2 separate regions of the Homo sapiens genome follow, and region 1 is linked to region 2. The links are contacts of gene promoters, found by promoter capture Hi-C in human tissues and cell types (Jung and others, 2019). All regions are on one chromosome and are shown on one strand. Each heading gives the region's core, a stretch centred on a gene start or on the middle of the fragment in contact. The rest is flanking DNA. Distances are from core to core; before and after follow the strand shown. Region 1 overlaps LOC105379082 (a long non-coding RNA gene). Region 2 holds the start of POU5F2 (POU domain class 5, transcription factor 2).

Region 1 (3,512 bases), core at 701-3,200, 1.2 Mb before region 2:
CACCTGATACAGCCACAGAATCTAGTCTCCACTGCAAATTAGGCTGTTAGCATCTCTTTCACAATTTTTAAAAGTCAGTGTCGAAATTCACTGTTGGCCCTTGCTGGTCTTCTATGCATGCTGCCTGTGAAAATCCAGCCATTTATTTTTATTCAAATCAAAGGGAGGCATTTTTGTTATTAAATAAGTTACTCAAAAACAAACAGCAACAGAGTCCACTTCTTACCAGCATATTCCTGCAAGCCTGATATTCTACATGAATTATCTTAATGAGGAAATATATCCAAGCACTGAATAAGGAATCTTAGATTTCCAGCTTTGACTTTTAGCTACAGCTCACTCACACACAACCTTACAGAATCCCTTAAATCTCCAAGAGCCCATTTCTCATTTTCCTCTGTGCTCCCATGGAGCTGATCCAATGGTTTTTAAGGGAGCTCTGAGCTTGGACAAGCTCTGAAGGGCATGGGGCAAGACAAGAAACGGGCCCTGCGCTCCCTGCTTATCGTCTTGGAAAATAGGTATGATAATATCAGCCTCACCAGGGTCCCATTGCAATTAATGTTTGGAAAATGTTTTGAAATCCCAGAGTTAAGAAAGGCAATACCAGCGTCAATTATTTAAGGGTCTTATTTCTAAAGCACTATTCAAATTGTTTTAAGCCACTTTTTCTAAAAATATATGATACAAAGGCAATTATACTACCTGCAAGCATAAATTGATGTGGTGGTTTTATGGTCTTTTGAAAATTGCCTTAGTAGAATATCTCTGTGACCTGGAACATCTAGTTAAATGAGGAATCTGAGTTTTGTAGACTCGCCCAAACACTTAAACGCCAAAGAGATGAATCTATGGGAAGGGTGCTTTTCTTTGTTGATCTTGATTGCAGTTTCTGCACTTTCCAGAAGGTGATGTTGCTTTGCTTGGCTTCGTTTCAGATCTGAGGAGGGAAGCCAAACAAACAGTGGAAAATGAAGGATGAATAAAAAAAGAAAAGAAAAGAACCTTGGCTTAGGAAAGAGAAAACTTTTACAACCAAAGGCATTACAGAAGGTCTTTGAGTTTCAATAACTTTGTAATCTTCATATCCAACCAATTTTTGCTGTATGAGTATTTCTGAGTCGAACATCCTGGAATTAAAGATAGATTCCAAAGTATTTCTAAACAATGTGTAAAACTGGCATTATTAGAAGTCTTTGAGTATATAGACAAGACGGAAAGTTTAAAATAGGGAAACTAAATTGAGAACAAAGATGTTTCTAAAGATAAATCTATTGCTTGAATTTATTATATAACAACATTTTTTAACTACACAGGTTTGCATTTTACTTGGTACAAATATATCGTTGAAGAGTTCACTTACACATCCAAGCTATTACATACAACTGGGAATGGATGCTCAATGCTGTGTACAAGGTAAAATAGGTCTTTAAAAATATGTATATCCGTTAATGCTAAGCTATATATTTTTCAGGTGTCCTTGTAACTTAGTGTTCTTTTTCTTTTTGCTTTATTTGCAGTTTATTTAATATTTGAAAATACTTTTGTATCAATTAGCAAATTAGCAATTTATCTGGGCGGAAAAACCCCATCTTAGTTACTGAGTTACAAAGTGAATTGTTCTGCAGCTGCAAAATCAAGTGCCTCAGCTGAGTTAATGCTTTTCATTTCTTTTGCATGTGTCAGCATTAATGGAGGCAAGCTTCTATGAAGCCTTGCGTGTGAAGATGGTGCTGAGCAGACTAGATTCAATTCTGTTATATTCAATTCTGTTAAATGCTTTTTGCATTTTTTTTTTTTTTTTTTTTGGAATAAGGCACAAAAGGAGACTTCAGGCTGAACTTCAAGCAAAAGTTAATGCTATTCTCTTTTGGGTTCAACCACCCACTTTGCTTAAGGTCACTAGTTGAGGCTAATGCAGCTCAGAGGGGCTGCAGTAAACTTGGCATCTCCTTGATTAGGCTCCCTGCTGATCTAATACACATACTAGTTCACTTGCCAAGTCAAATAACACATTTAGTGAATTGGAAATAAGATTTAAGTGGGCCAGCACAATGCGGCTTGCCCTCTCATCTTTTTACCGAATCCTTCTCTTTGTATGCAAGGCTGTGAAAACTGCTCTTGTTAGAGGACTTAATCTTCATTTTTTTCCTGTAGATTATTTGGAAACAGGTCAATTGAATGTTGGAGCTGCTAACTCCTCCCACTAAAGAAAGAACCCGCTTGTGGCATACTGATTGCATCATTTAAATGAAAAGCTCCTATTATTAAAGATAAAATACTACAATATAAGGGTTTGTTAGAATTAATTTAAAAATCCTGATATTAAATGCAGTACTTTTTTAACAGTGTGTTTATTTCTTTGTCTTATAGATTCTTTTCTAAAGCATGCTTTGTATTAACTACTGGTGAGTAATAGGAGGGGATGATCATATCAGTATATATTCATCTCCTGTGGCTATTCTGCTGCAGTTAATTCTTAAATACAGTAGGTTATAATAGGGTGACATTTCTATAGTGCCTTTCATAAGAGCAATCTAAAGCATGTCATATAATGTTTGACTTTGAACTATTCAGTTTCTTAGTGACACAAATCTCAGGGTAAATTTATGCCTTCATGGTTTGTTTCCTTAAAAAATATGAGTCATTGTATTTGTTATAGTTTGAAATTTATCATAGATTCACCATAGATTATCAAGTTATCCATGCCATAATAATCTGTAACTGTCCTTATCTGTGTGTTAGATGTGCAGGGTTATGATGTGTGTGGACTTTTTACGATCTACTTATCTCTTCTGGTCATATAGATTTATGTGTATCTCTTTTCTGACTAAATCTGAAATCAGAGCTTGCATTCTGAAGAAACAAAACATATCTATGTAAAATCCAAGTACTATTCCCTGACATCTAAAAGTTAGAGAAAAATGATTATAATACCCTCCACCAAAATAAGGAGGTACTCAATTTCAATTGCATTTTTTACAAAATAAAATGTTAAATGTGTGAAATGTATAATGTACCCTGAGATTAAGCTAAGTATCCCCAGAATGATTTTTAGAGTTACAATAAATAGACTATTTCAAGGGACAGTGTTTGATTATCTAAAATTTACATATTTGCAACAGTTGTTTCTGAGTGGAAAGGATTTATTTACTTAGCCAAAGCAAATAGCTTTTCTATGAAATGTGAAATAGGTTATACTGTTTATACTGTGTTTAGTCATTACATTTCATTCCTCAAAATGAGTACCAGATCTCTGTACTGTGTAATGAATATCCTCACAGTTTGTAAAACAATGTTAGTAATAATAATAAAGAATTGATCAATTTAATATTCTAATCTGGACTTCAATTTGAGGTTGTTGTTCTATCCAAAAGCACTTTGTAAATTCTAGAGAACTACACAAATGTGAGATCATTGCTATATTTTTCATCTCCTCTACTATATTTTACCTGTTTCTTTTACTTGTTTTGGACACCAGTAATGTTAAAACTCATCTCTAATAGGAAAAA
Region 2 (3,430 bases), core at 642-3,141:
AGGGAAGTTTGGATAAACTATTACAAATATCCTCTCAAAACCATTATAAGAGATCAAGAGAAAGTAAGGGAAATTCCCAGGGAACCAAATAGAGGTGAAAACAGGAGGAGTAAGCTACAGCTGGGACCGAAGCTCTGAAGTCCAGCTTGCCAACCTCAGTAACAAAGGAGTTTAGAATACAGTGACTGTGGCAGGACAAGACATAGTCCCATGGGACTACATAAAGTAGGGAGAGGAACTGAGACCCTGACATGAAGCTGGGGCACCAGAAATGAAAAGGTAAATCAGAAAAAAAAAAAAAAAAAAAAATCTTCCAAGAAAGCTCAGGTGTTTCAGCAAGGGCTCTAGGTGGGCTCTGTGTGTTTCTTCCCTATCACATTCTCAAGTCATTCCCTCAAGATAACTATTATCCTGGATTTTGTGTTTGTGTTTACACAGAGTTCTGCTTGATTTTAAGTAAAAAATTGTATACTAAGGTAGTCTTCTGTGACTTGAGTTTTTCACTTAGTATTGTGTTTATGAAAAAATTTAAACCCTATGTTTACTGATAACCACAAGGAATAACAGACACAATATTTAATAAAAAAAGGAACAAAATATCGAAACCATCTATATACTGTAATGTACCTTTAAACCAATGCTAGGGAAAAACAAAGGGAAAACACAAAACTGCAATAAACTTCATCTTCTCTCCCAGGTTTTTCTTGAACAATTCCCACCCCCATTCCCTACTATGTATCCTTAACTTCTTTAGACAGTGAATGAGAAATTAATACTAAAAGCCCTCAAATGAACCCTAGGGACATTTCCTGGGTTTTCCCTTCTTCTCCCCTCTCCAACCGTGCCGTGAAGGGCAAGCCCCTCAGCCCTAAAATCTGAGGAGGCCCAGAGTGGTGGCTGGGGCAGAGGAGTGGGCTACCCCTGCAGAGTAGAGACGTGTATAGTGGGGGATATCCACTGGGAGCCCCAGTCCCAGGTGAAAGCACACTGGTGCTCCTGGGCAAGGAGGCCCGGCTGTCCCCACAATCTCCCGTGGGGAAGCATCATTGGTTGGTCGACTGCCCATCTTGCTGCGGTTATAGAACCAAACTCGAACCACATCCTTCTGCAGCTGGAGGCACCCAGCAATGTGGCTGATTTGCTGGGGTGTGGGCTTAGGGCACCGCTGGAAGAATTTCTCCAGGCTGTTTCCGATTCGTCGCTCTCTGCTTGCCCGTCTCCACTTCCCAGACTGTTGCAGGATCATCTCCATTTTGCATAAGCCCAGAAGGTTCTCTGCTTCCACTTCCTTCAGCCACTTTTTCAGCAGTGGTCGCAGCTTCCACATGTTGGCGACGCTTAGCTGCTGGGCCTCGAAGCGGCAGATGGTCGTCTGGCTAAGCACCTTCCCAAACAGAGCTCCCACAGCGATCCCCACATCGGCCTGCGAGTACCCTAGGCTCAACCTCTTCTGCCTCAACTCCTTGGCCAATTGCTGCAACTCTTTCAGTATGCCCGAGATGTCCTCTGGCGGCGGCAACTTCGGAATGCTCCGCAGGGCAATGTAGGGCCCCGGGAGGGCGCCTTCGGAGGGGCGTCGCAACCAGTCCCCTGCCTCACTAGCTCCAAGACGGGGCCTGCAGGGTGCTATCCAGCCCCGGAATTCGTGTGGCAGGGGACCCAGGGGAATCCTCCACACGTCAGGGCCTGGGCAGATCCCTGGCCTGACTGCCGGCCAGACCATCACCCTGCCAGGGGCCGCCTGGGTGCTCAACCAGGTCAGAGTGTCAACCCGCAGGGGCATCGGCCCTCTGGGGCCGCCCCCACCACTGCCTGGAAGGGGGCAGAAGTGGTTTGAGGGCCTGTGTCCGGCCATGGGTGGAATGGCACCCGCAGCGGCTCTGGTAGGAACTGATGGCCCTCGAGGCTTCAGAACAGCCACCGGCCCCCTCAAGCCCCGCCCCCCAGTGGGCGGAGAAGGCGTTACAAGCCAAGGGTGCCTGTGCGTAGGCGGGGAAATCTGGTAGATCCATAGGAACTCCTGGGTCCTAGGGTTAAGGGAGTGAGCCCCCTACCCTGACCTTTGCTTCCAACTCCCATAGAGGTACAAAGCTCCCTTGTGGGATTTGCATCTCCAAGCTGTCTGGAGTCCCTTACTCACTGCCTCCATCCCCTGCCTGAATAGAACCCAGGTATTTTCTTATGCCTGTTCAGAAACTCTGGACCCTGATCCCCAGGAGCTACCTAACCTCTTGTCTTCACAAATAATTATTAAATATCTATATGCCAGATATTGCTGGGACGACCCCTCAATTCATAAACTGCCCCCTCACTACTATCTTTATGGTCACAAGTACTGCCAACAGTTCCTCTTTGCACATCCCCAGTCCCTGTGCCCTAAGAAACCTAGGCAACCCTGCTTGAGTTTCTAGTTAACATCAGTTTACTACCTCAGATTCTACCCCCGACCCCACCCCCAAACTGCCAGATTCCACTCCCTCCCTGGGGCAGAACTTTGTAACTAATTCCATGTTTCTTCCCCTAGCCTTGAAGGTCCTTTTGTTTCCCATTCTAACCCAGCTTCTTGGTCCAGAGTTTCCTCAACCAACAGAGATCTAGGTGTGTGTCTTCTCTTTCCCACTCTAGAGACAGGTCTCTGAACTGGCCTGACCCACTGTCCCCCACTGAGGATGCTCCCTGCAATATATGACTCACCAACATCAGGCTCCTTTATCCTTAGGCCCTTATCCCACCAGAAACCCAACAATCTTAATTTGTCCCTCCATCATGCCCCTAGCTCAGGCATCCAGTTGTGGGCCCTGTGTGCAGAAAGCTAAGGAGGGAGGGAGAAAGAGAGGCTCTGACCTCAGTTTCAATGTTTCCTAGGAGGAAGAGCACAATGACCTTGGCTAGACAATCATAGCCCTTCATTCTTTAAACCAACCATGATGTGGCTCTGTCCCCACCCACATCTATTGAAACTGGTCTTCTTGAAGTCATCAGTGATTTTTCAGCTGTCAAATCCAATGGCCTTTTAAAAAATCCTCATCCTGCTGTATCTGGCTATAGTGACAACTCTTCTTGCTCCTTCTCCTTTTAAAATTTACATGAAATGGTGATAACAGCCAAATCTGTATTTCAGTTCTGACTTCTCTTCTGATTTCCAGTTTTGTATTTTTCACTGCCCCAAGTCAAATTCATTATCCACACTTCTAAACCTACCTCTCATCCCGGGACTTTTGAACTAGTTATCAATAACTCAGTCATCCAAGCTTAAACCTAGGAGCTGTTCTTGACTTTTTCTGTTCTCCACAGGGTGTCAAATCTTATGTACTGGGACTCCTAAAACATCTGAAGTCTACCATCTCCTTCCTAGCCTCATCTTCCTGGGCCCTTAAATACCTCTTCCTAGATGAAGGCAGCACCTTGAGACTAAATTCAACCCAACACT

Evidence for each region. Contacts are between HindIII fragments. The study calls those that stand out against the background at their distance.
Region 1: a fragment that was not itself captured here is called in contact with the fragment with the promoter of POU5F2 in region 2 in 1 of the 25 tissues and cell types used here (mesenchymal stem cells).

The regions. Positions count from the first base shown.
Region 1 is chr5:92,559,094-92,562,605 of GRCh38, forward strand. LOC105379082 (a long non-coding RNA gene) reads right to left here. Exons shown (of 4, transcript NR_188298.1): 3 at 706-940. Among named protein-coding and RNA genes, the nearest start is that of LINC02058, 380 kb to the right of the region's middle. RefSeq lists an enhancer at 1,597-2,253. The HindIII fragment of the contact is 8,223 bases long and covers 1-3,512 here.
Region 2 is chr5:93,739,709-93,743,138 of GRCh38, forward strand. It overlaps POU5F2 (POU domain class 5, transcription factor 2), which reads right to left and starts at 1,892. Exons shown (of 1, transcript NM_153216.2): 1 at 1-1,892. The coding sequence starts at 1,855. The coding sequence ends at 869. All of the region lies in intron 10 of ARB2A (ARB2 cotranscriptional regulator A), which reads right to left. The HindIII fragment of the contact is 4,314 bases long and covers 1-3,430 here.